Linked DNA regions of Homo sapiens: all the other regions are linked to region 2. The links are contacts of gene promoters, found by promoter capture Hi-C in human tissues and cell types (Jung and others, 2019). All regions are on one chromosome and are shown on one strand. The core of a region is centred on a gene start or on the middle of the fragment in contact, and the rest is flanking DNA. Distances in the headings are between cores, read along the strand shown. Region 1 has its middle 28 kb from the start of SPATA31C1. Region 2 holds the start of S1PR3 (sphingosine-1-phosphate receptor 3). Region 3 overlaps LOC105376131 (a long non-coding RNA gene). Region 4 has its middle 13 kb from the start of CTSL.

What was found. Contacts are between HindIII fragments. The study calls those that stand out against the background at their distance.
Region 1: a contact is called between a fragment that was not itself captured here and the fragment with the promoter of S1PR3 in region 2, in 1 of the 25 tissues and cell types used here (thymus).
Region 3: a fragment that was not itself captured here is called in contact with the fragment with the promoter of S1PR3 in region 2 in 3 of the 25 tissues and cell types used here (dorsolateral prefrontal cortex, hippocampus and small bowel).
Region 4: a contact is called between a fragment that was not itself captured here and the fragment with the promoter of S1PR3 in region 2, in 1 of the 25 tissues and cell types used here (dorsolateral prefrontal cortex).

What each region holds. Positions count from the first base shown.
Region 1 is chr9:87,942,483-87,949,429 of GRCh38, forward strand. It overlaps the pseudogene LOC645937. Among named protein-coding and RNA genes, the nearest start is that of SPATA31C1, 28 kb to the left of the region's middle. The HindIII fragment of the contact is 9,656 bases long and covers 1-6,947 here.
Region 2 is chr9:88,986,439-88,993,415 of GRCh38, forward strand. It overlaps S1PR3 (sphingosine-1-phosphate receptor 3), which reads left to right and starts at 5,030. Exons shown (of 2, transcript NM_005226.4): 1 at 5,030-5,257. RefSeq lists a silencer at 4,576-4,870. The HindIII fragment of the contact is 13,055 bases long and covers 2,265-6,977 here.
Region 3 is chr9:87,978,138-87,985,281 of GRCh38, forward strand. The region is part of intron 1 of LOC105376131 (a long non-coding RNA gene); the gene reads left to right. Among named protein-coding and RNA genes, the nearest start is that of CDK20, 7.2 kb to the left of the region's middle. The HindIII fragment of the contact is 6,657 bases long and covers 2,523-7,144 here.
Region 4 is chr9:87,709,564-87,716,617 of GRCh38, forward strand. No RefSeq gene overlaps it. Among named protein-coding and RNA genes, the nearest start is that of CTSL, 13 kb to the right of the region's middle. RefSeq lists an enhancer at 3,824-5,023. The HindIII fragment of the contact is 5,621 bases long and covers 1,936-7,054 here.

The DNA of each region.
Region 1 (6,947 bases), core at 3,431-5,930, 1.0 Mb before region 2:
TTTTGAAGGAGAACAAGGCAAAAATTAGCACAGAGAGGGCATGTTTTAAGTTTATAATAAATTTGATAGGTGATAATAGAGCAAAGATAGTGGTTGTATAAGAGAAGAGAATACAGGCTAAGGAACAGAATCACAATCATAAGGAAATTTTATATATGACCAAAGTGGCATTGAAAATAATTTGGGGCTGGGTGCGGTGGCTCACACCTGTAATCTCAGCTCTTTGGGAGGCTGAGGCAGGTGGATCACTTGAGGTCAAGAGTTCAAGACAAGCCTGGCCAATATGGTGAAACCCTGTCTCTACTAAAAATATACAAAAATTAGCTGGGTGTGGTGGCACGTGCCTGTAGTCCCAGCTACTTGGGAGGCTGAGGCAGGAGAATAGCTTGAACCTGGGAGGCGGAGGTTGCAGTGAGCCAAGATTGCGCCACTGCACATCCAGCTTGGGTGACAAAGCGAGACTCTGTCTCAAAAACAGAAAAAAAAGAAAATAATTTGGCAAAAGAATGGATATGGCAGGGCGGCTAAACACTGGGTTTTTCAAGTTGTTTTGATTATTCTAGGTTACCTGCTTTCCTATATAAATTTTAGAATCATCTTGTCAATCTTGTCAATACATACAAAAAATCCTTCTAAAAGATTTACTGAGATTGTTTTGAATCTGTAGATCAATTTGGGGAGAATTGATATCTTAAAAATATTGAGTCTTTGACCATGAACATGTGTCTCTCCATTTATTTAGGTCTTCTTTAGTTCCTTTTATCACTATTTTGTAGTTTCAACGTATATCTCCTGCATATACTTAATTGGCTTTACATCTTAATATTTTATATGTTATTGGTACCTTATAAATTGTACTTAAACATTTTTAAATTCAGTTTTTTGGCTAATGAATACAAATGCAATTGATTTTTGTGACCTTATGTCTTGTGATCTTCCTAAACTCAGTTATTAGTTTTGGTAGTTTGTTGTTGAATCTATAGAATTTTCTGCATAAAAATAAAACATGTAATCTTCAAATTAAAGAATTTTACTTCTTCCATTTAAATAAGATCACTTTCTATATCTTATTTTTATTGGCTAGAATGGCTAGGATCTCTAATACATTGTTGAATAAGAATGAAAGGGTGGTCATTTTTGCTGTGTCCTGATATTAGAAGAAGAGCGTGTGTGTGTGTGTGTGTGTGTGTGTGTGTGTGTGTGTGTGTGTGTGGTATTGCAAAATAAATTTATTTGAAGATAAAATGTCTTATAAAAGGTCAGAGGCAATTCGAGATCCCAGATTCAGCTTGTCTCATAAAAAGATTCAACTTCAAGTAGCACAATTTCTTGTCTGCTTTTAATCCTGAACATTCTTGAAGCACGAAACAGCCAACTGTTTACACAACACACATATGTGACATCTTGACTCTGGCACCAGTGGCGCCGCAGCTTTCAGCTCTGAGGCCGCAGGGGCTGCAGCCCTCAGCTTCGGGAGGGCCCAGATCAGGCCACTGTGACCTTTGGCTTTGCCAGCAACAACAGGTCCCAGCATCCCAGCCCTTCCCTCCCCTGGCGCCTCCCAAAAGCACAAGAATGCAAACCGAGACTGGCCCACCACTGAGGCAGGGGTGGACTCCCGCCTGAGTGTGCCAACAGGGCAGGTGGACCGTCCTGGTGACTTCCTGGTGGGCCTGGCCAACCAAGAGGCCAGGTGGCCTCACCGGGCCTGACCTGGCTGCCTGGCAGCCCGGAGAGGAAGGAGGAAGGACGCTCATGGTGCAATAGCTCTGGCCACGCTGGCAGGAGCTACGTGATGATCCTGGAGATGGCTTGCAGGGAGGGGAAGTCGTCGTCCCGGGCAGCATGCAGCGCCTGGTGGCTGCTGGCGTCGCCATGCGTGAGCACCTGCTGGCAGGTGGGGCACACACGGCAGTCCAGGCCCGCCTGCTGGGTGGTGGCCTGCCACGCACTCTTCTTGTTGTTCTTGGACTTGGTGCTGAGAGTCTTCTCGCGGTTGCCGAAGTCCGTGTGTGCAGACAGGATCTCCTGCTGCTTGGCCGTGTCGGGCAGCAGGACCAGCAGCTCATTAAAGACCTTCTGGAAATTCTCCCCCAGCAGACCCCGGCAACTCTTGTAATACTGGGCTGCGGAGATCAGGCCCTGTCTGAACTCCCCTGAGTGGCTCTTGAACTCGCTGAAGCGGGCCTCGTCGCTCTGCAGGAAGTCCCTGATGGACTGGATGAGCTGAAGTTTCCTCTCCCAGAAGTTCTCGGGGACTAGGTAGGCCCGTGGGGCAGGCGGCGGCCTGGGTGCTTTTGTGGTGGTGGTGGTGGTGGTGGTGGTGGTGGTGGTGGTGGTGGTGGTGGTGGCGGCGGCGGGGTTGGGGGCTAGGCAGAAGGCCAGCGAAGCCGGGGGGCGGCTTGCTGATTGGGGGCACCAGGCCTGGTGGGGGAGGGGGAGGCGTGCCCTTCAGGAGCACCACAGCGCTGAAGCCTGGGGGCGCGGCATCCGGGGTGGGCGGGGGCCGCCGAGCGCTGGGAAGTCCTCCTGTGGCGTGGGAAGAAGAGCATTTTTTCACTAAATACGATGTTAGTTGCAGGTTTTTGGTCAGTATACTTTATCAGGTTGAGGAAGTTTCTTCAATTCATAGTTTCCAGAGAGTTTTTAATCAGGAATTAATATTGGATTTTGTAAAATGCTTTTTCTGCATCTGCGGACATGGTCATAGAATTTTTCATCTTTATTCTGTTAATATGGCACATTATATTAATTGATTTTCAAAATTAAAGCAACCTTGTATTTCTGGGATAAACCCCATTTAGTCATCATGTATGAACTGTTTTATATATTGTGTGATTCATTTAGCTACATTTTTATTAACTGGATAATTCTTGTGTCTGTGTGCATGGTGGGGATTATCATCTGCAGTTTTATTTTCCTGTAATATCTATTTTCCTGTAATATCTGCTCTGAAACCAAAAAAGGTTTCAGAGTAATGCTGGCTGCTGTGGTCTGAATGTTTGTGTTTCCCCCAAAATTCACTGCATTGAAACCTAACCACCAATGCAATAGTATTAAGAGGTGGGAACTTTAGGAGATGATTATTTCGTTAGGGTGGAGACCTCATAAATGGGATTAGCGCTCTCATAAAAGAGGCACAAGGGAGTTCATTCACCTCTTCCACCTTGTGAGGACACATAGCAGGTGCCATCGATGAGGAATTGACAGATGCTGAATCTGCTGGCACATTGATCTTGGTCTATCCTTACTCCAAAAGTGTGAGCAATAACTTTCTTGTGTTTATAGATTACTCAGTATAAGTTATTTCGTGATAGCAGCCTGAATGGACTGAGACACTGGCTTTATAGAGTAAGTTGGAAAATGTCTCCTCCTCTTCAATTTTCTAGAAGAGTTTGTGTATAATCAACATTATTTACTCCTTAAATATATAGTGCTATTTGACAGTGAAGCCATATATGTTTAGGGTTTTCTTTGTGGGTATGTTTTTAACTATGTTTAATTTTTAATAGATATATTTATTCTTGAGTGCCCTTTGGTAATTTATCTATTTCAAGGAATTTCATCTAAGTTGTTGAATATATTAACATAAAGTTGTTAATATTCTCTTATATCCTTTGAATATCTGTAGAATCTATGACTTTATTAATCTCAAAGAACCATTTTTAATTCATTTCTTTATATTTTTTCTCTTTTCTATTTCATGGTTACTAATCTTTATCTGTCCCTTTGGCTTATTTTCTTTATCTTTCCCTTTGGCTTATTTAACTTTCATATTCTCTTCCAATTTGTTGTGCTTATTGTGTATGTCAGCTTAATTTTTTAACAGCTTTGCTGAGATATCATTGATATATTAAAAACTATATATATTTAATGTGTACAATTTAATGAGTTTGAACATATGCATATTCTCGTGATACTATCCCTACAAAAGTTTTCTTGTGTCCTTTTGTTGCTTTTTGTTTATTTGTTTATTGTTTTGTGTGTATGTGGTAAGAACACTTAACATGAGATCTTAAAATTTTAAGTGCATAATACCATATTGTTGACTGTAGGCACTATGTTGTACAACAGGTCTCTAGAATTTACTCATCTTGTCTAACTGTAACCTTATACACCCATTCAGCAACTCCCCATTTCCCCCTCCCCTATCCCCTAGCAACCACTATTCTATTTTCTACTTCTATAAGTTTGACTATTTTAGATACCTCATTTAAGTGGAATCATGGAGTATTTGTCTCTCTGTGACTGAATTCATTTAGCATAATGTTTTCTATGTCCATCCATATTGTCACAAATGGTAGAATTTTCTTTTTTTTAAGGCTGAACAGTATCCCATTGTATATATATATATATACTACATTTTCTTTTTCCATTCATATATCAGTGGATATTTGGGTTGTTTTTGTATCTTAGTTATTGTGAATAGTGTTGCAGTGAACATGGGTGTGTAGATATCTCTTAGAGATCATAATTTTAACTCCTTTGAATATATAACCAGGAGTGCAATTGCTGCATCACATAGTAATTCCATTTTTAAGTTTTTGAAGAATCTCCACAGTTTTCCATCGTGGCTGTACCATTTTACATTCCCACCAATAGTGTACAAGAGTTCCAATTTCTTCACAACCTCACTTTTATCTTTTGTTTTTTTTAATAATAATCATCCTAACAGGTATGAGATTGATATGGTTTGGCTGTGTCCTCACCCAAATCTCATCTTGAATTGTAGTTCCCATAAACTCCACATGTTGTGGGAGGGACCTGGTGGGAGGTAATGGAATCATTGGGGGTGGTTTTTCCCTTGCTGTTCTCGTGATAGTGAATAATTCTCATGAGATCTGATGGTTTTATAAAGGGCAGTTCCCTGCACACGCTCTCTTGCCTGCTGCCATGTAAGACATGACTTTCTCCTCCTTCGCCTTCCACCATGATTGTGAGGCCTCCCCAGTCATGTGGAACTGTGAGTCCATTAAACCTCTTTTTCTTTATAAATTACCTAGTCTTAGGTATTTCTGCATAGCAGTGTGAAAATGGACTAATACAGAAATGATATCTCATTGTGGTTTTCATTTGCATTTCCCTAATGATTGATGAATTTGAACACCTTTTCAGACACTTGGCCATTTATGTCTTCATTGGCAAAATATCTGTTCAAGTTCTTTGCTCATTCTTAATTGAGTTATTTGAGTTTTCACTATTGAGTTATAGCAGTTCCTTATATATTTTAGAAATTAACCCCTTATTGGTTGTATGGTTCGTAAGTATTTTCTCCTGTTCTGTAGGTTGCCTTTTCACTCTGTTGATTATTTCCTTTGCTGTGCAGAAGATTTTTGGTTTTATATAGTCTCACTTGTTTGTTTTTGCTTTTGTTGCCTCTGCTTTTTGTGTCAAATCCATTAAATCATTGCCAAGATTTAATTTCATGAAGCTTTTTCTTTACTTTTTTCCCAGGAGTTTTACAGTTTCAGGTCTTACATGTAAGTCCTTAATCCATTTTTATCTTTTTCTAGTATTTTAAGGTAGGAAGCTGAAATCACTGATTTGAGAGCTTTCTTTTCTAATACAGACCTTTTGTCTGCACTCCACAAATTTTGATACATTGTGTTTTGATTGTCACTGTAATCCCAGCACTTTAGGAGGCCAACACAGGTGGATCACGAGGTCAGGAGATTGAGACCATCCTAGCCAAGCTGGTGAAACCTTGTCTCTACTAAAAATACAAAAATTAACCAGGCATGGTGGCGGGTGCCTGTAGTCCCAGCTACTCAGGAGGCTGAGGCAGGAGAATCGCTTGAACCTGGGAGTGGCAGTTGCAGTGAGCTGAGATCATGCCACTGTACTCCAGCCTGGGTGACAGAGTGAGACTCTGTCTCAGGAAAAAAAAAAAAAACTTTCTAATTTCCCCTTTGATATCTTTGATTCATGGTTTAATTAGAAGTGTGCTGTTTGATATCCAAGTATTTGGAGATATTCTAGAGATACTGTTATTGATTTTTACTTTGATTTCACAGTGGTCTGCTATATATGATTTAAATCTTTTTAAAATTAATCAAGACTTGTTTTATGGCCAAGAATACAGTCTATCTTGGAAATCTTATTAGTGCATTTTAAAGGAACATATGTTATTGGGTAGAGTATTAATATTACAGCAAGTTTATATATATAGTTTATATATACATAAACTGTATATATATACACATTGATACATATATACACACATATATACATTGATACTATATATATATACACACACATTGATACATTGTGTTTCAATGGTATATGGTAACAGGAAGCAAATTATTAGAATGGTAGAATTAAGCTCAGTTACGTCAATAATATCAAATGTAAATGGCCCATATACATATATATATATATATATAGAGAGAGAGAGAGAGAGAGAGAGAGATGGAGTCTCACTCTGTAGCCCAAGCTGGATTGCAGTGGTGTCATCTTGGCTCACTGTAACCTCTGCCTCAGGGGCTCAAACAATTCTCCTGCCTCAGCCTCTCCAGTATCTGGGACTACAGGCATGCGCCACCACACCCGGCTAATTATTTTGTATTTTTAGTGGAGATGGGGTTTCACCATGTTGCCCTGGGTGGTCTCAAACTTCTGAGCTCAGGTGATCCACCTGCCTCGGCCTCCCAAAGTGCTGGGATTATAGGTGTGAGTCACCGCGCCCAGCCGATAATGTTTCAGTCTTCTATGTTGTCACTGGTTTTCTGTCTATTTTTATTTTATCAGTTATTGAGAAAAAGGTATTGAAATCTCCCCAGTATAACTTTGGATTTTTTAATTTTTTTCTTCTAATCCTATATGTTTTTGCTTCATGTATTTTGAAATTATTAGGTACATAAATATATACAATTGTTATAAACTTTTGATTAGTTGACCCCTTATCATTATGAAATGACTCTCTGTAACCCTGGTAATTGTCTTTTCTC
Region 2 (6,977 bases), core at 3,780-6,279:
ACACACGGACCATACACACCACACCACACACACACACACACAACTACTTATGTTTCTGAATATTACAAACATCATTACAAAATATGAAATGTACAAAGAACAATTCCCGGTGGCTCATGCTTGTAATCCCAGAACTTTGGGAAGCCGAGGCAGGTAGATCACCCGAGGTCAGGAGTTCAAGACTAGCCTGATCAACATGGTGAAACCCCGTCTCTATTAAAAAATACAAAAATTAGCCAGGCACAGTGGTGGGCGCCTGTAATCCCAGCTACTCAGGAGGCTGAGGCAGGAGAATTGCTTGAACCCAGGAGGCGGAGGTTGCAGTGAGCTGAGATTACACCATTGCACTCCAGCCTGGGCAACAGAGCAAGCCTCCGTCTTAAAAAAAAAAAAAAGGAACAATTCCTGAAGCTTCTGATGATTTCTGGCTGACCATGAGGTTGGAAGTGGGAACACATTAAGGGCTTAATGATGGGACACAGTGATGTAACCACTGTGGAGCCACAATTGAAGTGCTGAGATTCAGCATTGGAAGACATCTCTGTCACCAAATGAACACGCCTCCCTAAAGAGCTCTGGCAGTGAGTCAAAGGCTTCATTTGGGTCAAGACAGAGTTATTATACAAAAAGCCAAGTTTCATTCTACAAATCCACATCGGGGTCAATATTTTAAAGTGATTTCCCCCAAGTTCTGTGTAGAGCAAGCTGACAGAGAAGAAATGGCTCTGAGATATCTGGCAAGGTGCAGATGGACTGACCACAAGCCGCTTATCCCCACTGTAGCTCCGGGCTCCCTTCTGCCACAGTGGCCATATCTGTGAGGTTCTGCCCTTTCCCTGGGGCCACTGCATCAGTCAGGGCTCTCCAGAGAAACGGAATCCACAGGAGGTATACCTATAGCATACACAAAGGCTTTATTATAAGGAATTGGCCCATGCAATTATGGAAGCTGACACATCCAATGTCTATAGGTCCAAGGTCCCAGTTCCAGTCCTAAGAGGATTCTCCTAGTTAGAGACTTCTCTCTAACTAGGGAGAGTGTTGGCTTTTTGTCTTCAATAACAGTCTACTCAGGCCCTCAACTAATTGGGTGAGGCTCACCCACACTAGGAAGGGCCATCTGCTCTCCTCAGTCTACTGACTCACTTGTCAATCTCATCCAGAAACCCCCTCACAGACACATTCAGAATAATGTTTGACCACATATCTGGGCACCCCATGCCCCAGTCAAGTTCACACATACAATTAACCATCATAACTATCTGTTAGACCCCACCTTGCAGGGGGCAGTCCTCCTCTGGAAACCTTCAGGACTTGAAGTGTCAAGCTCATGTGTGCAAACTGTGACCAACACACATTTTCCTGAGAAGAGGCCTCAGACAAACAAAAAAATATCATGCATGCACATTTACTCAGATAATGACTGTCTGTTGCAGCCTTTACGCTAAACAGAGCTAAGAGTAGAGATAGTGCAGATTAACTCAGACCCAGAAACTTGGGGAGGCACCCTGGGATCCTGGAAGCAGATGCTGGGAGGGCAGAGGGGACCGAGAAAGGAGGTGCATTTACTCAGCTCTTCTGAGACAATTCTGCTCTCCTGCGGTGCACTCGTTCTGCTGGAGAAAGGGCTCACTTTGAGTTTGAATCTTAAAACTGCATGTCCTTTAACCACACTGTACCTGCTCACCAGGCTGTGGACACTAAATTGTTGGGAAAGTGAATATATTTCATTTTTTTAATTAAAAAAGCATGTAAGGTTATATTACATAATTGTGATATATAATACATTTATTCAAATCATATTTAAGTTTGGGGCCACATGATTTTCAAAAGTATACAGATATAACTCATAGTATCTTTCAATTTTATTCCCATAAGCCTAGATTTGATTTAAAGTCTAAGCGCAAAGGTAGAGAAATTTTTTAGTTGTTTAGTACCTGCCATTTTATTTTTCTCCAACTTTTTATTATGGAAAAAGTTCAAAGATACAAAGAAGGAGAACAGATTGTACAACCCCTTCCCTAAATCCACCACGTAGAACCAATAATCACCAACCTTTTGTCATATCAGCTTATGTGCACGTACTGTGCTGAACAATTTAAAATAAGTTTTAGACATGAAGACATTTTACCCTTTAATACTTCAGCAGCACCTCCTAAAATTAAAGCCATTCTCCTAAACAAACATTATGCCATTATCACACCTAAAAACATTAACAATAATTCTATACTATCAGTCAATATCCCCTCCAATTTGTAATTTCCTCCAAAATGTTTTTGTGTGCGTGTGTGTGTGCTGATTTGTCCAGCTGGGAGTCAATCCGGATTTGTACTTATTGTTATACTTCTTCTTTTCAGCTGTTCTTATACCAGAAGAATCCTTCACCCCTTTTTCTTGACATTGATTTTTTTTGGAAGAGCTCAGGACTGCAGAATGCCCACACTCTGGTAGTCCAGTTTTTCCCATGGTGTCATTTAACTCATGGCTCAAACTCTTCCATTTCCTGTAAACTTGCAGTAAAGTCTAGAGGCTTTGCAATTGATTCAATTGAAGCATCTTTGGCAAGCACACAGCAACAATGATGTTGTGTGTTTCTTTTGCATCACATAATGCCAGGTTGAGCCAGTATTAGTGACACTGAGTTTGATCTTCCTGTAAGGTACAGCCAGATGTCTCCATAAAAAAATGGAAAATGGAAAACCTTTTTCTTTTTTTTTTCCAATTAGCACCCGTTCGCCTGCACACTTTCACCTAAGGGTTTGACACCCACTAGTGCACACTGCCTGATTTAATTATTTCATTAAGGGTTACAGAATGGGGATTTCCTCATTCTCGCATTTCTACGTTTATGAGCTGGCATTCTTCTGTTAAACTGCTTTCACTTGTGAAACAGGATGCAGAGGAGGAGACTTATTCAACAGAATTGTAGGGAGGGCTGTTTCTCTCAAAAGGAGTGGTGAGAGAAGATGGTCTCTACCGGGGCATGGAGGGCTCCTTGTCAGAGTCTAGTGTCTGAGCTTTAAGGCCCAGGAAGAGGGCAGCAGATGGGGGTGGGGCAGTGGGTGAGTGAGAGGCCCGTGTGTGGGGAGACCCACTGAGGACAGGGATCTTTAGGCAAACGGAGCCTCACTGAAAGAGGAATTTCAGTGATGCCATGGGTCAGATCCTGGGTCTCTCTTAGGGAAACCTGCCATAAAGCATGAGAGCCACATTACTCCTCAGGGCTTCTGGGCTCCGATTCCGCAGACTAGTTTTGGAGGCATCACCACGCCTCAAGGTTGCTCTGTTATATCAGGGTAACTGACTTTCTCTAGGAACGGAGACTTGGGTGCCCCTTAAAACAACCCTCAGCCAGTATCCTAGCAGTAAATTTTTCATCACGGGAAGCAACTAATTGAACAGAGGTGTGATGAACCTACTGACCACTTTGGTAATATAGACACAGTGGCCACAGTATGCTGTATTGTTATCCTGGTTGTGACCAATGCCAAAGGAGCATGTTTCCTTCTTTTCTTGACTTGATGCTGTAGGAGTCCAACAAAGGGAAGCACATTCAGGCCCACATGAAACTTGGGACAGAAGTGGCTTCTCAGAGCCGTGCACCAGGCACTTTGAACAAGTTGGAAGGCTACAGTGCCGGAAGACTCCACAGTAGCACAGGCGAAGTGGCTTAGGCGAAAACGCTGGGAAGTACCCCAGCTCCCGGGGGCCAGAGCCTCTAGGGCTGGCAGCCTCAGCAGGCAGAGTCACTTGCCTCCTTCAGCTCAATTGCTGAGGGCTTGCGTTTCTCTGCAGGGAACAGGAGTGCCGCCGACTTCCACTCTTGGTGCCCTTCACCGCTCAAACTGCACCCCAAATAAGCGTATGCACCCTGCTCCAAGAGAAGGATGCGCTGGGCTGATCCTCTGGAGGCAAGAGGGCAAAAGACAGAAAGTAACGAGCGGCCTTTGCACAAACTCAACTCTCTGCAGCGGCCCCTGCGGCCCAATCCTGCCGGCCCAGGAATGCACGGTCGGATAACAGGCCTCTCCTTGCTTTTTCGTCTTCTTCCTCCCGCTTCTCTCCTCTCTCCTTTTCCTCCTCCTCCTTTTTCTTTAATTTTCTCCTTTCTCCCCAAGCTTCTACAGTTGTTTCTGTGTTCGCTCAATCATGGCCTTTGGCATTGATTGAAAATTTGGCAGTTCCTTCTCTCGGAATTCTGTTTGAAGCCTTCATATGGATTTATTATTATTATTATTATTTTTGCCACACAAAAGGGGCAAATCCGCGTGAGGAAGGGGGTCGCATGGGGGTCGGCTGAGATCTGCTGGCTGCCGGTCTAGGAGGGGCGCTGCTCTGTGCCGGAGTGGGCTCTGGTGCACCAGCAGAGGCTGGGGGAGAGTGCTGCCCCCGCCTGGAGCCCAAGTCTCTGCGTGCCTGGGGGTAGAGCGCGGAGAGGGACCAGGCAGGCGCCGGAGGGGACCCGCGCGGAAAAGGAAGAAGCCCAAACAAAAACGCTGTCCGGCGCCAGGCGCCCACCTGCAAGCCCAAGCCGGTGCTCGGCCAGTTACAAAAGAAATGGTCAGGATCTGGACAACGATAATGATAGTATTAATCCTCCTATTAAGAATCGGCCCAAACAAACCCTCGCTGTCAGGGCGACAGGCGCCCGCCCAAGCCCAGACCTCGGACCTGGTTCCAAGCCTGTTCCCGCTGGGTCTCTGGGCGCCCGGTTTCTGCACCTGGAGCTCGCCCGATGAGGACAAGGTCTGGAGGCCGGCCTGGGAACAGGGGCCGAAGGGCGAGCCGGACCCTAGGGGATTGGTAGGGTCGGGGAGAAGGGGTCCAGGCTAGGGGCGGGCGGGGCGCACGGAGACCAGGCGGCTTGAGCGGGAGGTGGGGAGCTGGAGGAGTGCCGGGTTCGCGGGCGGGGGACGGGGAGAGGGGGGCGGGGAGAGGGGCGGGAGTCGGGGGCGGCGAGGGGAGGGGCGGAGCGCGGGTCCCGCCCCGGCGGGCCGCTGGAAAAGTTTAGTCTCTGACTCGCTCGGGCAGAGGCCGAGGAAGCCGGTTCCGGGGACGGGCAACAGGGACTCAGGGACCAGAAGGCGGCTGCAGGACGCGACCGAGCAGGACCCCAGGCCCGGGAACGACGTCGCGAGCGCTGAGACTGCCGGGCCTCCCAGCCCATCTGGCATTCGAGCGCAGGACCGGGCGCCCCGGCACCGCCGCGCGCCACCCGCTAGGATGCCGGTGGCCCCAGCGCCCTCAGCCGACGGAGGTGAGAGGCGGGCCCGGGCGGGGCGCGGAACCAGGGTGGGGGGCTGGGGGCCGAAGGACCCACCTTTCCAACAAAATCCCCACCGATCCCGGGCGCGACGGGGACTTGGGCGCGCCACGGCGGCCGGAGCGCTCCACATCAGCACCCCTCCCCCAGAGCCGCTGCAGGAACAGGGAGGAGGCCTTTTCCACCGCACCCGGAGCGTTTACAACGGGCTGGAGCTGAATACCTGGATGAAAGTGGAGAGGCTGTTCGTGGAGAAGTTCCATCAGTCGTTTTCCTTGGACAATTAACAAGTTAGGCTTCCACAGTGCCAGGGCCTGGGGATGCTGGACGTGGGAGAGGGTTGTGGTCGTTAGCCTGGGAAAATCATTCTTTTAAACAATATTCGCCGGAAAATTAGTTTTTTCCTAACATTTCTCAAACAAGGCAATTAGGGCCGTCAGAATCGGTGCTGGAAGACGAAGTCCCCACAGTGCAATAATGAGGTTCCCACGGAAAATCAGTACGTTGTGTTCGTAACTGAGATAACAGCTAGAGAAGGGGCTTTGGGCTTTTTGAGTCTCCCAATAGTCAGTCTCTCTCTCTCTCTCTCTCTCTCTCTTCCTCTGACTTTCTGGCTTTGGACACTCCCAATGGTATATTTCTTTGTGGTGTTTTTATATTTGGATATAAGAGAGGAACTTCTTGTTGGATTTTTAAGGGAACACACTTCGTTTTGACCCTTCCAATAAGGAAAGGGGAGCTACAGGAACAGAGAGCTCTTTAGAAGGTTACTTTTAAATGGAGGCCCCCCCATTCATGGTACCCACTCCCACTTGGACCTCTGAGACCTCCAGAATTAGGCATCATTCTAAAATCTGGACATTAGAAGTCACAGACTTTGTATATAACCACATATTCATAATTTATCTTTTCAATGTTTTTTATTCATAGATGAAAATCTTGCAGGCATAGTTAAGAAAAATATAATTCCTAGAAAGTACAAGGGAAGGATTATGCTCTGCAGATACATGACTAACAAGGATAGCTGGCCATGCCCAGGGCTGGTGTTGGTTGAGGAGGTGGTGATGGTGCGGGGCATGTGTGTGTGTGTGTGTGTGTGCGCTTGAGGAGTTGTGGAAGTGTTCATATCTGTAAAGTATTATTTCATGGATGCAGACCTTAATGCTAGGTTGAATAACTTTGTTGCCATAGAAGAAGAACCGCACGTCAGGCTTTTTTCATTAGCAAACCAGTAAGCACTCACTTTGGGCCTCTGAAATCACTTCCATCACCTAACACCAGAGATACAAACTGAAGCTAGCCCTTAAGAGCCTCCCCCTAAGATTTAGAGAGAATGATTTCTCAACCAGTTTTCATCTTTGAAAGTGCCATTTCTCCCTTTATCATTGTGATTTTTATTCAAATGCATGAGTCTCTGATTTTCTACCATATACAAAGGGTAGAGACTACAGTTTCCTATAGAAGAAACTTCACATAGTGGCCGAAGGATCTTATTTCTCAAAATTCAGGAACTGGTTTCCTCTTTCTGGAAATTATGACATTAACTTGATTTCATGGTATCTCTTTCATCTTCCTCAATGCCTGTGCTGTATGTATATTTTTATTATATACTGTAGGTATATTTTTATTACCAAAAAAAGGAGAATTTGAGCATGCCACAATCTTGAAAAATCTGAGGTTGCCCTGCTGTAGAACCCTTTAACTGCCAGGACTT
Region 3 (7,144 bases), core at 4,601-7,100, 1.0 Mb before region 2:
ACAGTTAACATTACATTCAATGGTGAAAGATTGAAAGCTTTCCCTCTAAGATCAAGAACAAGTCAAGGATCCTCACTTTTGCCGCTTTTATTTTATATAATACTGGAAGTCCTAGCCAAAGCAATTAGAAAAATAAATAAATAAATACATAAATAGGCCGGGCACAGCGGCTCATGCCTGTAATCCCAGCACTTTGGGAGGCTGAGGCAGGTGGATTACCTGAGGTCAGGAGTTCAAGACCAGCCTGGCCAACATGGCGAAACCCCATTTCTACTGAAAATACAAAAATTAGCCGGGCATGGTGGCACGCACCTGTAGTCCCAGCTACTTGGGAGGCTGAGGCAAGAGAATCGCTTGAACCCGGGAGGCGGAGGTTGCAGTGAGCCGAGATCGCACCACTGCACTCCAGCCTGGGTGACAGAGTGAGACTCCGTCTAATAAATAAATAAATGAATGTAGGTAAATAAATAAATAGCATCCAAATTGGAAAGAAAAAACTATCTCTGTCTAGAGACAACATGATAATATATGTAGAAAATCCTAAATATGCCACAAAAAACTGTTAAAACTAATAAACAAGATAAACAGAGTAGCAAGATTCAAAATCAATATGCAAAAATCAATAGTTTCTATATACTAACAATGAGCACTCTGAAACAGAAATTAAGAAAATAATTCCATTTACAATAATATCAAAAAGAATAAAATACTTAGGAGTAAATAAGGAAGCAAAAGACTCATAGGTTGAAAACTAAAAAATGTTGCTGAAAGAAAGACACAAATAAATAGACATCTTGTGTTCATGGACTGAAGGACTTAATATTTTGAATATGTCAATACTACTGAAAACAATTTAAAGGTTTAATGGAATCTCCATGGGATTTCTTTTTTGCAGAATTAGAAAAAAAAATTATTCAGAAACCAATGTGGATTCTCAAGAGGCCCTAAATAGCCAAAACCAATCTTAAAAAAGGAGGAGGTCTTACTCGTCCAGATTTTAAAGCTTACCACAAGCTATAGTAATCAAAAAAGTGTGGTACTGACATAAAGGCAGACAGCCCAATGGAATAGAATGGAGAGCCTAGAAGTAAATCTTCACATACCTGATCAAATGATTTTTAAAAAAATTATGAAGACCATTCAATGGGGAAAGGACAGTCTCTTTAACTAATGATGGTGAGAAAGCTAGAGCTCTACATGCAAGAAAATGAAAAAATTGACCCCTTATATCATATGGAAAAACTAACTCAAAATGGATTAAAGACCCAAATTTACACCAGGTGCACTGGCTTACACCTGTAATCTCAGCACTTTGGGAGGCTGAGGCAGGATCACTTGAGGCCAAGGCCCGCGGATCACTTGAGGTCAGGAGTTCGAGACCAGCCTGGCCAACATGGTGAAACCCTGTCTCTACTGAAAATACAAAAAAATGAGCTGGGCATTGGGGCATATGCCTGTAATCCCAGCTACTCAGGAGGCTGAGGCAGGAGAATCACTTGAAACCAGGAGGTGGAGGTTGCAGTGAGCTGAGGTCACGCCACTGAACTCCAGCGTGGGCAACAGAGGGAGGCTCTGTTTCAAAAAAAAAAAAAAAAAAGAAAACCTAAATGAAAGAGCTAAAACTATAAAACTCTTAGAGGAGAACATAAGGACATAAGGGAAAAGCTTCATAATATTGGGTTTGACAGTGACTTCTTTTTTTTTTTTTAAGACACAGTCTCACTCTGTTGCCAGGCTGGAGTACAATGGCATGATCTCGGCTCACTGCAACCTCTGCCTCCCAGATTCAAGCAATTCTCCTGTATCAGCCTCCCAAGTACCTGGGACTACAGGCGCATGCCACCACGCCCAACTAATTTTTGTATTTTTAGTAGAGACAGGGTTTCACCATGTTGGCCAGGATGGTCTCGATCTCTTGACCTCATGATTTGCCTGCCTCGGCCTCCCAACGTGCTGGGATTACAGGCATGAGCCACCGCACCTGGCCTGACAGTGACTTCTTCATGTAACACTAAAAACATAGGCAACAAATGTAATAATAGCCAGGGTAATTAGGCAAGAGAAAGAAAGGGTATCAAAATTGGAAAGCAGAAAGTCAAATTGTCCCTATTTGCAGATGGCATGATCTTATATATGGAAAAACCTAAAGGTTCTACCAAAAAACTCTTAGAACTGATACATTTAGTTAAGTTTTAGGATACAAAATCAACATATAAGTATCAGTAGTGTTCCTATATTTGAACAATAAACTAGCTGAAAAAGAAAGGCAATCACATTTACAATAGCTACAAAAAATAAAAAATAATAAAATACCTAGGTATAAATCCAACCAGGGAGGTGAAAGACCTCCACAAGGAAACTAAAAAACAGTGATAAAAGAAATGGAAGAGTATACAAATAAATGGAAAGACATCCCATGCTCATGGAGTACAAGAATTAATATTGTTAAAATGACCATACTGTGCCGGGCATGGTGGCTCACACCTGTAATCCCAGCACTTTGGGAGGCCGAAGCAGGTGGATCATCTGAGGTCAGGAGTTTGAGACCAGCCTGGCCAACATGCGAAACCCTGTCTCTACTAAAAATACAGAAAATAGCCGGGCACGGTGGCAGGCAGCTCTAATCCCAGCTACTCGGGAGGCTGAGGCAGGAGAATAGCTTGAACCAGGGAGGCAGAGGTTGCAGTGAGCCGAGATTGCACCATTGCACTCCAGCCTGGGTGACAGAGTGAGACTCTGTCTCAAAAAAAAAAAAAAAAAAAAAAAAAAAAATGACCATACTACCCAAAGCAATCTACAGATTCAATGCAATCCCTATCAAAATGCCAATGACATTCTTCACAGAAATAGAAAAAAAGATTTAAAAACAATGTGGAGACACAAAAGATTCTGAATAGCCAAAGCAATCCTATGCAAAAAGAACGAAACTGAAGGCATCACACTACCTGACTTCAAAATCTACTACAAAGTTGTAGTAACACAAACTGCATAGTACTGACCTTAAAACAGACACGTGGGCCAATGGAACAGAATAGAGAACCCAGAAATTAATCCACATATATATAGCAAACTGATTGTTGACAAAGGCACCAAGAACACTTACTGAGGAAAAGACAATGTCTTCAACAAATAGTGCTGGGAAAATTGGATATCCATATGCAGAAAAATGAAATTAGACCTCCACCTCTCACCTTATACAAAAATCAACCCAAAATGGATCAAAGACCTAAAAGTAACACAAAAAACTATAAAACTACTAGTAGAAAACATAGGGGAAGTGCTTCAGGATATTGGTCTGGGAAAAGACTTTATGAGTAAGACCTCAAAAACACAGCCACAAAGGCAAAAATAAACACATGGGATTATATCAAACTAAAAAGCTTATGCACAGCAAAAGAAATAACACAGTGAACAGACAACCTGCAGAATCTGAGAAAATATCTGCAAGCCATTCATCCAACAGGGGATTAATATCCAGAATACACAAGGAACTCAAACATCTCAACAGTCAAAACAAAACAAAAACGACAATTCAGTTTAAGAATGGGCAAATGATCTAGATAAGACATTTCTCAAAAGACGACATACAAATGGCCAAGAAACATATGAAAAAGTACTCAATGATGCTAATTGTCAGAAATGCAAATCAAAACTACAATAAGGTATAATCTCATCCCAGTTAGGATGGCTAAAATAACAAATCCTGGCAAGGATGCGGAGAAAAGAAAACTCTAATATGCTGTTGATGAAAACGTAAATTAGTACAGCCACTGTGGAGAACAGTATGGACATTCATCACAAAACTGCAACTAGAACTACCATAAGATCCAGTGCTGTCACTACTGGATATTTATCCAAAGGAAAGGAAATCAGTATGTTGAGGAGACATCTTCATCCCCATGTTTATTGCAGCACAGCACTATTCATAACAGCCAAGATATGGAATCAACCCAGGTGTCCAACAATAGATGAATGAATTTTTTAATGTGGTATATATATATAATGGAATATTATTCAGCCTCAGAGAGAATGAAATCCTGTCATTCACTGCAACATAGATGGAACTGGAGGATAGTATGTTAAGTGAAATAAACCAGGAACAGAAAGTGAAACATCACATATTCTCACATGTGGAAGCCAAGAAAAGTTAATCTCAGAGAAGTAAAAAGTAGAACAGAACATACTTGTAGTGGAGAAGGGGGGGTACATAGTGAGAGATTTGTTAAAGGATACAAAATTACAACTAGTTAGATAAAAGGAATAAGTTCTAGTGTTCTGTAGCACTGTGGTATGACTATATATTAGTTAACAATAATATATAGTTTCAAATAAGTAGAAGGAGGATATTGAATGTTTCCAACACAAATAAATGATAAATATTTGAGATAATGGATATGGTAATTACCCTATCTGATCTTTATACATTATGTATTGGACACTGTACCTGTCAAAACATCATTATGTACCCCATACATACATACAATTACTATATGTCAATCAAAATTTTAAAATAATAATAGACACATTTGATTTTATCAAAATTAAAAGCTTCTGTGCATCAAAGGACACAACAGAATAAAAAAGCAATATACGGAAAGGGAGATTCATGAAGCTGAGTGAACACCAAACAGAATGAATCTAAAGAAAACATGACCCAACCATAAGCCATCTACAACGAACTCATTCCAAATATAACAATATAAATAGTTTGAAAACAAGTAGTGACAAAAACTAAGAAGTTGTAAAAAGAAGTGATGGGGGTATGTTATAGAGACACAGGAGCCAGCTGAAAGAATTCCTAATGGCCAAAGCTAGAACAATTTGACCAAGAAAATAAAAAATATAATAGTACATTATTAACCGAAGTATAAAATAAATATACATAAGGAAAGCCTACGAAAAATTCTTCTAGATATTGGTCTAGGCAAAGAATTCATGGCTAAGACTTCAAAAGCAAATACAGCAATAACAAAAATAGACAAATGAGACTTAATTAAACTAAAATGTTTCTGCACAGCAGAAAAATAACGCAGTGAATAACAACCTGCAGAATAGGAGAAAATATTTTGCAAACTATGCATCTGACGGACTAATATCCAGAATATGCAAAGAACTCAAACATCTTAACAACAACAACAAAAACCAAATAACCCCACTAAAAGCAGTCAAAGAACATGAACAGACATTTGACAAACAAAGACATACAAATGGCCAACAAGCATATGAAAATATTCTCAACATCACTACTCATCAGGGAAATGAAAATTAAAATGAGATATCAGCTTACACCAGTCAGAATGCCTATTAATAAAAAGTCAAAGGCCAGGCACAGTGGTTCACGCCTGTAATCCCAGCACTTTGGGAGGCCGAGGCGGGTGGATTACCTGAGGTCGGGAGTTTGAGACCAGCCTGACTAACACGGAGAAACCCTGTCTCTACTAAAAAAATACAAAATTAGCCTGGCATGGTGGCACATGCCTGTACTCCCACCTACTAGGGAGGCTGAGGCAGGAGAATTGCTTGAACCTCGGAGGCGGAGGTTTCAGTGAGTCGAGATCGTGCCATTGCACTCCAGCCTGGGCAATAAGAGCGAAACTCTGTCTCAAAATAAATAAATTGTAAAAAAAAAAAAAAAGAAAGAAAAAAGAAAAAAAAATGTTGGCGAGGATACAGAGAAAAGGGAATGCTTATATACTGTTGGTGGGAATGTAAATTAGTACAACCTCTATGGAAAACAGTATGGAGATTTATCAAAGAATTAAAAATAGAACTACCATTCAATCCAGTAATCCCATTACTGGGTATCTACCTAAAGGAAAAGAAATCATTATATCAAAAAGGTACCTGCATTTGTATGTATGTAGTAGCACTATTTCCAGCAGAAAAGATATGGAATCAACCTAAGTCAACCTAGGTGTCTATCAAAGGATGATTGAATAAAGAAAATGTTTTATACACACACACACACATATATGTATGTGTATATACAGGAATACTACTCAGCCATATGTTGGGGACCAACCCCAACACCACCCGTAGGGTACCCAAAGTCCGGTGGTGACAAAGGAATGAGAAGAGACAGGTTAAGAGTTCATAAAGGTGGGAGCCAGGGGGCCAGAACAAATCAGAGGCTGCGAAGGTGCCAAGCTCTGGTCTCCACACTATTTATTGAGTACAGTCACTTAGATCTAAGAAGCAGATGTTCAGGGGTGAAACGGTGAAAGCGGGGGGCGGTGTGACATACACCTAATCTATAGCAATGGCGGTTTAGGTAAATTTTCTTTGTGCTGAAGCAGCATAAACTTAACTACTGATTTATTCTTTAACTTATTGGAGAGCAGCTATCGGGAGTGGGCATAACTAGGAGCCGGCATATCTGGCCACATTCCAATGCTTCAAAGGAGTGTCTTTCTCCTTGAGCACAGTGTTTATAGATAAGAGAGCAGGTCACGCTCTGGTCATGGGAACGTTATGGCAATTAGAAGACTTTCCTCCTCAGAGGCCTCTTGTGGCTTTCCACAACTTATTGTCCCATATTTTTATGGCCAGTTTATGCAGGCACCCCACAAGCCCTTTTCCCAACAGCCATAAAAAAAGAATAAAATCATGTCATTTGCAGCAACATGGAACTGGATATCATTTTTATATCTATATATATATACACACATACACATGTATATATGTGTATATACATATATACACGTATATACGTGTATATACGTGTATATACGTATATACACGTATATACGTGTATATACGTATATACACGTATATACGTGTATATACGTGTATATACATATATATATTTTTTTTTTTTTGAGACGGAGTTTTGCTCTGTCACCCAGGCTGGAGTGCAGTGACAGGATCTTGGCTCACTGCAACCTCTGCCTCCCGGGTTCAAGCAGTTCTCCTGCCTCAGCCTCCTGAGTAGCTGGGATTACAGGCACACACCACCGTGGCCGGCTAATTTTTGTATTTTTTTAGTAGAGTTGAGGATTCACCATGTTGGCCAGGCTGGTCTCAAACTCCTGACCTCAGGTGATCTGCCCACCTCGGCCCCACAAAGTGCTGAGATTACAGGCGTGAGCCACCGTGCCTGGCTTTCTTTTCCCGTTTTCCTTTTTTTTTTAAGAAAGGGGCTCCT
Region 4 (7,054 bases), core at 3,496-5,995, 1.3 Mb before region 2:
CTGTGGTGCGGTGGCATGATCATAGCTCACTGTTGCTTCAAAGTCCAGAGCTCCAGCAGTCCTTCCAACTCAACCTCCTGAGTAGCTAGGCCTGCAAGGGCACACCACCGTGCCTGGCTAATTTTTTTTTTTTTTTTTTAAGGAGATGATCTCACTATGTTGCCCAGGCTGGTCTCAAACTTCTGGCCTCAAGTCATCCTCCCACCTCTGCCTCCTGAAGTGAGAGGATTACAGGCATGAGCCACAATACCCAGCCAGTGCTTTTGTTTTATGCAAGTCCTAGGACAGGCACCTGTTCATATGATTGTGGGGTCCCCGGGCTCCTGAAATGTTGGGACCACAGTCAGGAATCATTGCAACCCAAAGGTCAAGAGCTTAAGGATCACTCAACTCACTGCCCCATCTTGGGAAATGCCCTGGGGCACTCTTCAGGGGGCAGTTTGGAGTCTGTACCAGGAGCTTCTGTACCAGGAGCTCTGGTCAGGCTGAAACTGGCCACTGCCCACTGTATGCAGCTGGCTCTCTCCCCTGCAGGTGGGAGGAAACAAGACCATAGCTTACCTCCTGTGTCCATAGTGAGAATCAAAAGGTGCAAATTCTAGGAGTCAGAAAGAAAAGCCAATCATGGGACCCTGTCTCTTAGAGTTGCTGTGAAATGCACTCAGTTGCCATGTTCCTCGTCACCTCTTTACTATAGTGTAACAGCCTCTGGGTACCACGTCCAAACTTGGGCCACCTTGGGGTGCCTGAGGTCTCCAGTGTGGACAAAAGTATCCCAGGGACCCAAAGCCAGTACGGTGTGGGCTTGAAGGCATTTGTGGGAGTTGCAATGGGTTCCAAAATCTCAACCCCTACACCTTCTAAAAGGAATCAGAACTTGGTGGAAATTTTGCTGGTCTATTTTGTAGAAAAGCTGTTAGGGTGACAACTACAGGATTCACAAAAATCATAAAACTATATTTGGCCCTGTCGCTGTTCAGAGTCCACACTGGTCTTACTAAGCCCTGATAGAGTGACCACAGAAAAGTCACTCCAAAGTGAGGGGCCCAGCGTGGCTGTTCTTGCATAAACAATGGCTAGATAATAGCCGGGCTGTAAAACCAAGAGGGAAGTGCGCAGATCTGAGCTTAGAAGTGGAAGCTTTCATTAAGAGTAAAAAGATGGGCCAGGTGCAGTGGTTCATGCCTGTAATCCCAGCACTTTGGGAGGCGGAGGTGGGCAGATCACCTGAGGTCAGGAGTTCAAGACCAGCCTGGGCAAAATGGTGAAACCCTGTCTGTGCTAAAAATACAAAAAAATTAGCCAGGCATGGTGGTGTGTGCCTGAAATTCCAGCTACTTAGGAGGCTGAGGCAGGAGAATCACTTGAACCCAGGAGGCAGAGGTTGCAGTGAGCTGAGATCGCACCACTGCACTCCAGCCTGGGCAACAAGCGCAAAAATTACGTCTAAAAAAAAAAAGAATAAAAAGATGGAGGCGGGCGTGGCGGGTCACACCTGTAATCCTAGCACTTTGGGAAGCCAAGATAGGCAGATCACTTGAGGTCAGGAGTTCGAGACCAGCCTGGCCAACATGGTGAAACCTTGTCTCTACTAAAAATACAAAAAAATTAGCTGGGCGTGGTGAGGGGGCGCCTGTAATCCCAGCTACTCAGGAGACTGAGGCAGGAGAATTGCTTGAACCCGGGAGGCAGAGGTTGCAGTGAAATGAGATTGCTCCATTGCACTCCAGCCTGGGCGACTGAGCGAGACTCCATCTCAAAATAAACGAATGAATGAATTAAAAGATGATTTCAGTTTTGCAAGATGAAGAAAGTTTCTGGAGGGCATGGTGATGATGGCACAACAATATGAATGTATTGAATGCCACTGATCTGTGCAGTTCAAGTTGGGTAAAGTAGTAAATTTTGTGTTTCTCTATATTACCACAGTTTTCTTTAAAAAAAAAAAAAAAACTAAAAAGATAAAGCTGAAACCTAAAAATGTCCAGGTAACAATAAAGCTGGCAGAGTAATGTACAAGACTACCTACTGTATTTAGAGCAGCTCAGCCAAGCGGAGCCCCCCAGAAAAGGGGAACAGGAAAAGGGATTGATTGCTTTTTAAAGAATTTAATATTTGTTATTTCAAAAAAAAAAAAACTTTAAAGTGGTCCTCAGAGGGGGAAGAAGTGAGAGTTCTGTTTGGCTTCTTTCCTCTTTTGATTGGCAGAGGGTTTTGTTTTTAGTTTGAATTCGTATTTGAGACCCAGCGCCACAGTCTTTGCAGGACTATGCATTCCTGAGAACTTAAACTGAACTGTTTATGAGGAATAGTGTGAGGGTGAGGGCCCAGCCCTGGCTCACTGAGTCCTCAGGGCTCAGCTCCACAGCTGCCTGAGGAATTTGCTCTCAAGGGCAATCTTCAGCGATCTGGAGCATAGCTGGGCTTTGGGTGGCAACCTGAGGGTGAGGTCAGACTGTAGCATCACAACCAAAAGTCACATGCTGATGACAGGCTCCAAATCCTCCCAGCCCAGGGCCTGGTGGCTTCCAGATGTTGACTCAGGACAGGAACCGCTTGTCTGCCCTAAATGAATGCCATGGCCAGAGAGGGTGGACCAGGGGCACCTCTGACAGGGAGAGTTAAGGAGCAGTGAGCTCCCTTCCACCTCCGCTGAGCAGAAAGGAACCCTGGAAATACCTTCAGGACAGACAGCTGCTGATCTCTTCCTGGAAGCGCTGGGCCTCAGAAGCTTGCTGGTTCCTGCCTATTTGCTCCCACGGCAAATTCTTGATTCTTTATCAGAAAGGAGGGAAGAAGTGTGTGGGTGTGAGGGGGAAGAAGCCACAGGAATGCCCACAGCAGAGGTCCTCGGGGACGCTGGGCTATCCCTGGTGGCAACACTCTTGGGGCTGGTGCTGGGTGAGGACGGCCTCCCAAGCACCCTATGCTGTGACTCCAGCCCCCAGGATTCTCCTCAGGGTAGAGAGAAGGAGCTCAGGTGAGCTCTGGATGAATGATACCATCTTTTCCATTGAAATCACAGAATTTTACAACTAAAGAGAACTTCCAGATGGTTTGAGTCAACCGCACTCTGGCAGCTGGAAGCAGAGATGAAAAGATTCAGGCAAAATTACACAGTTCAATTATTAACAATTCAGACTAAGCATCAGGCCATCTGACCCCAACTGAGGGCCCCTCATCCTATTCTACTAAGTATATTACACTGCAGTCTGTATGTGTGTGTGCATGTGTGTGTCATGAGAGTACACGGATATGCAGGTGTATGCATCTGTATTTTGTGCATAAATGTGTGCATTTGTGTACATGTATATTAATGTATGTGCGTGTGTCATGTGCATATGTGTAGCAGAGTTAGTGTGCATATGCACATGTGTATATGTGTATTGCGCATGTGTATACACATGTATATATGGGGGTAAGTCTGTGTCTTTGGTATGTGCATATATGTGTGTGTGTGATGTGTGTGCATGTGTGTGTGCTTTGTGTGTGTGGTGTGTGTGCATGTGGTGTGTGTGGGGGTGTGTGTGGTGTGTGTTTATGTGATGTGTGTGTGGTGTGTGTGTGAGGTGTGTAGGGTGTGTGCGTGTGTGGTGTGCATGTGGTATGGTTGTGTGTGGTGTGTGCGTGTGTGGTGTGTGTGTGGGGTGTGCGCATATGTGTGGCATATGTATGTGTATATGTGTGGTGTGTGTTGTGTTTGGTGTGTGTGGTGTGTGCATGTGTGTATCTGGTGTGTGTGGTGTGTGTGATGTGTGTATGTGCGGTGTGTGTGTTTTTGGTGTGTGGTGTTTGTGGTGTGTATGTGTTTGGTGTGTGGTGTGTGTGTTTGGTGTGTGGTGTGTGTGTGGTGTGTGTGTGGGGGGGGTGTGGTGTGTGTGTGGTGTGTCGTGTGTGTGTGTGTCATGAGAGATTCTTAGGCCATAATGGCTTTTTTTTCTGACCAAGAGACTTGATTCTTGCTGATTCAGCCATGAGTGTGCATTTCCCACAATCAGGGTGACTAACCAGGACATCCGGAGAAGTTTCTTCCTCTCTGCCTCACCCATCCCACTCGCTCCATCCTCAAAGCGGACACTCAGATGCTGGGGCTTCTGCCCCAGTGTGTGACCCCACGGGAGGTTTGCAGAGTCCTCAGGTTGCGTCACAGCCAGCGTTGATGAGCATCATCCTGTCTTCCAAGAAGGCAGGCCAGTCACCCAAGAATGAGCCAGAGCTGCTTCTGTAAATCACGAGATTCTGTGACCCAGATTAACATGGAAGGAGAAACCAGCAGCTGCTGCCGCCGTAGGCACAAGTCAGCAACTTCAGTCCTTCTGAGGCTGGCCCTTCCTGGCCATGGGCTGCCCTTTCCCTTTGGGGTAATTTGAGGCAATGAAAGTTTTTATTCCCTTTGGTTGTATTTTCTAGACATGTTTTAATGTAGCTGAAATCATATGAAGTGTTCAATTTTATACCCTGCTTTTTTTAAACGGAAGATTATGACACAGCTTTTTTACAATGTTATTAGAAGCTTTTCAGAAACATTCCTTTTAACGGCTGCAAAATGCTATAATAATATTGTCATATCCCAATTCCCTACTGTGAAACACTCAGGCGTTATTCCCTGTTGAAAACAAAGCTGGGCTAAACATCTTTATGCACATTTTTTTCTGTATTTCGGACTGGACATGATATATGTGGCTTTTTGGGCTGTCGGCACATAACAATTAAAATCCAAAAAGAGAAAACATTAATTGCTGAGCAAAACTTTGCATTTATGTTGCACTCTATCTGGTTTTCTTTTCTTCCAGAAAAACATTATTTTATTAATCAATGGCTAACACACTTTATAATAATTTTTACCAAATTTTTTGCTACATATAACAGCTTTTATAATCTTACTCTTTTAGCAAGAACGGAAAAAATTCATTCTTTCCACCATCACAAGAGATTAATTACTCAATAATTACATTTATTACCAGTTTAGAAAACTTTGAGCTTCAAAACCCATTACAGGCAATGTCATAAATTTTAAAGATTACTGTCAAATCTGGTGAACACTCTATCAAGTTTAGTTTCATTTGATTATACATAAGCTGTAAGATTTTCTGACATTGCAAGTTTAATTGTCTAGTGACTTATTTTAAATGCTTTTTAATGCCAACACTCATTATCCAATTGTCATTCATGTCCTTCTCTGCCTGGCTTTATGGGCTGAATTTCTGTGCAGGTGCCTTTTGCTGAGAAGGCACCCTTCCCAGTGCTCTGGGCCATTCTCTGTGTGGTTCCATTGCTATCCCGCTCCAGGTACCAAAGGATTTGGCCTCCAAACTCTGCTGCCCACCTTGGTGGTTGGACACATACTCCTGGAGGACCTGGAGTCAAAACAAGCCACATACATCCTGCTGACATGGAGAACAGCCAGCTACTGAGCAAACATGCAACACTGGTGATATTGTGCAATGTTCCCAGCTGTGAATTTATCTCATTGTTTTCACCCAGTGACATTTTTATCTTATCCCTCCATAAGCCAGGCAAAAGTACACTAAACGCTTGAATAGATTCTCTCTTGTCATTTTGGAATTACTATTTTCATTTTTTATTTGAAAATGAGAAATAAAAAGGAATCTTATAACTTCTCTCTGCCCCTTAAAGCTATTTTCAATAAAGAGTAGCTTTTTTTTTTTTTTTTTTGTGAAATGGAGTCTTGCTCTGTCACTCTGTCGCCAGGCTGGTGTGCAGTGGTGCGATCTCGGCTTACTGCAACCTCTGCCTCCCAGGTTCAAGTGATTCTCCTGCCTCAGGCTCCTGAGTAGCAGGGACTACAGGCACGCACCACCACACCTGGCTAATTTTTGTATTTTTAGTAGAGACGGGGTTTTACCATGTTGGCCAGGATGGTCTCGATCTCTTGACCTCATGATCCGCCCACTTTGGCCTCCCAAAGTGCTGGGATTACAGGCATGAGCCACCGTGCCTGGCCGCCTTTTTTTTTTTTTTTTTTTTTTTTTAACTGACTCTTAAACCTTGAGACGCCTTGCTATTGCCAGTGGTTCCCACACTTTGGGAATGTTATGAAATAGCAAACTTTTATAAAGAACATGGAGGACTGACACTCTGACACTTTGTTTTGCAAAGAACACAGAAACTACAATAACTATCCAATGCTGTCACCAATCATAGTGCCCCAAAAGAAAGAGAAGGAAAGAAAGAAATTAATAAATAGAGAAAAAAATTCCAAATGAAAAAAATTAAAGCAGCAAGGAAGGGCGGGGCACGGTGGCTCACGCCTGTAATCCCATTACTTTGGGAGGTCGAGGCGGGTAGATCACTTGAGGCCAGGAGTTCAAGACCAGCCTGGCCAACATGGCGAAACCTTGTCTCTACTAAAAATACAAATATTAGCCAGGCATGGTGGCACGCTCCTGTAATCCCAGCTACCGGGGAGGCTGAGGCACGAGAATCACTTGAACCCGGGAGGCAGAGGCTGGAGTGAGCCGAGATTGTGCCACTGCACTCCAGCCTGGGCAACAGAGCAAGACAGAGCAAAAAAAAAAAAAAAAAAAAAAAAAAAAAGCAGCAAGGAAGGCAAGGAAGGAAGGAAACAAAAGAGAGAGAGAAAGTGGGAAGGTTACAGTCCTAGAATAATTAACATTCCTTTCAATGGAATAACTTAATCTTAGGGGAAAAAAATTACCCAGTGCTCTTCATTTTTCTCCATTTCCCTGGAATTGTGAAAAGTTCACCATGGGCAACATGACTCTAAAGGTTTATTGCTGTGTTTTGTTTGCTCAGGAGCCTTTGCTCTTTGCTATGCATAGAAGTTCAGGAAAAGCCCTCAGGCCCCGTCTCATGACATATTTCATGACAATGTTTATTCCATCCCCTGAACACTGAAACTTACCCAAGGTCCCTGCGGGAGGGCCACACTTTAGGAAGCACAGTATTTCTGGTTGCTCTTAACATAGGGGCATAGGATCCAACAGTCAGGAGGAAATGGGATGTCTCGAAGTTCAGCCAGAGCATCACCCGCCATGAAATATGAGGGTCAGTCGGTCTCCGCTCAAATGGT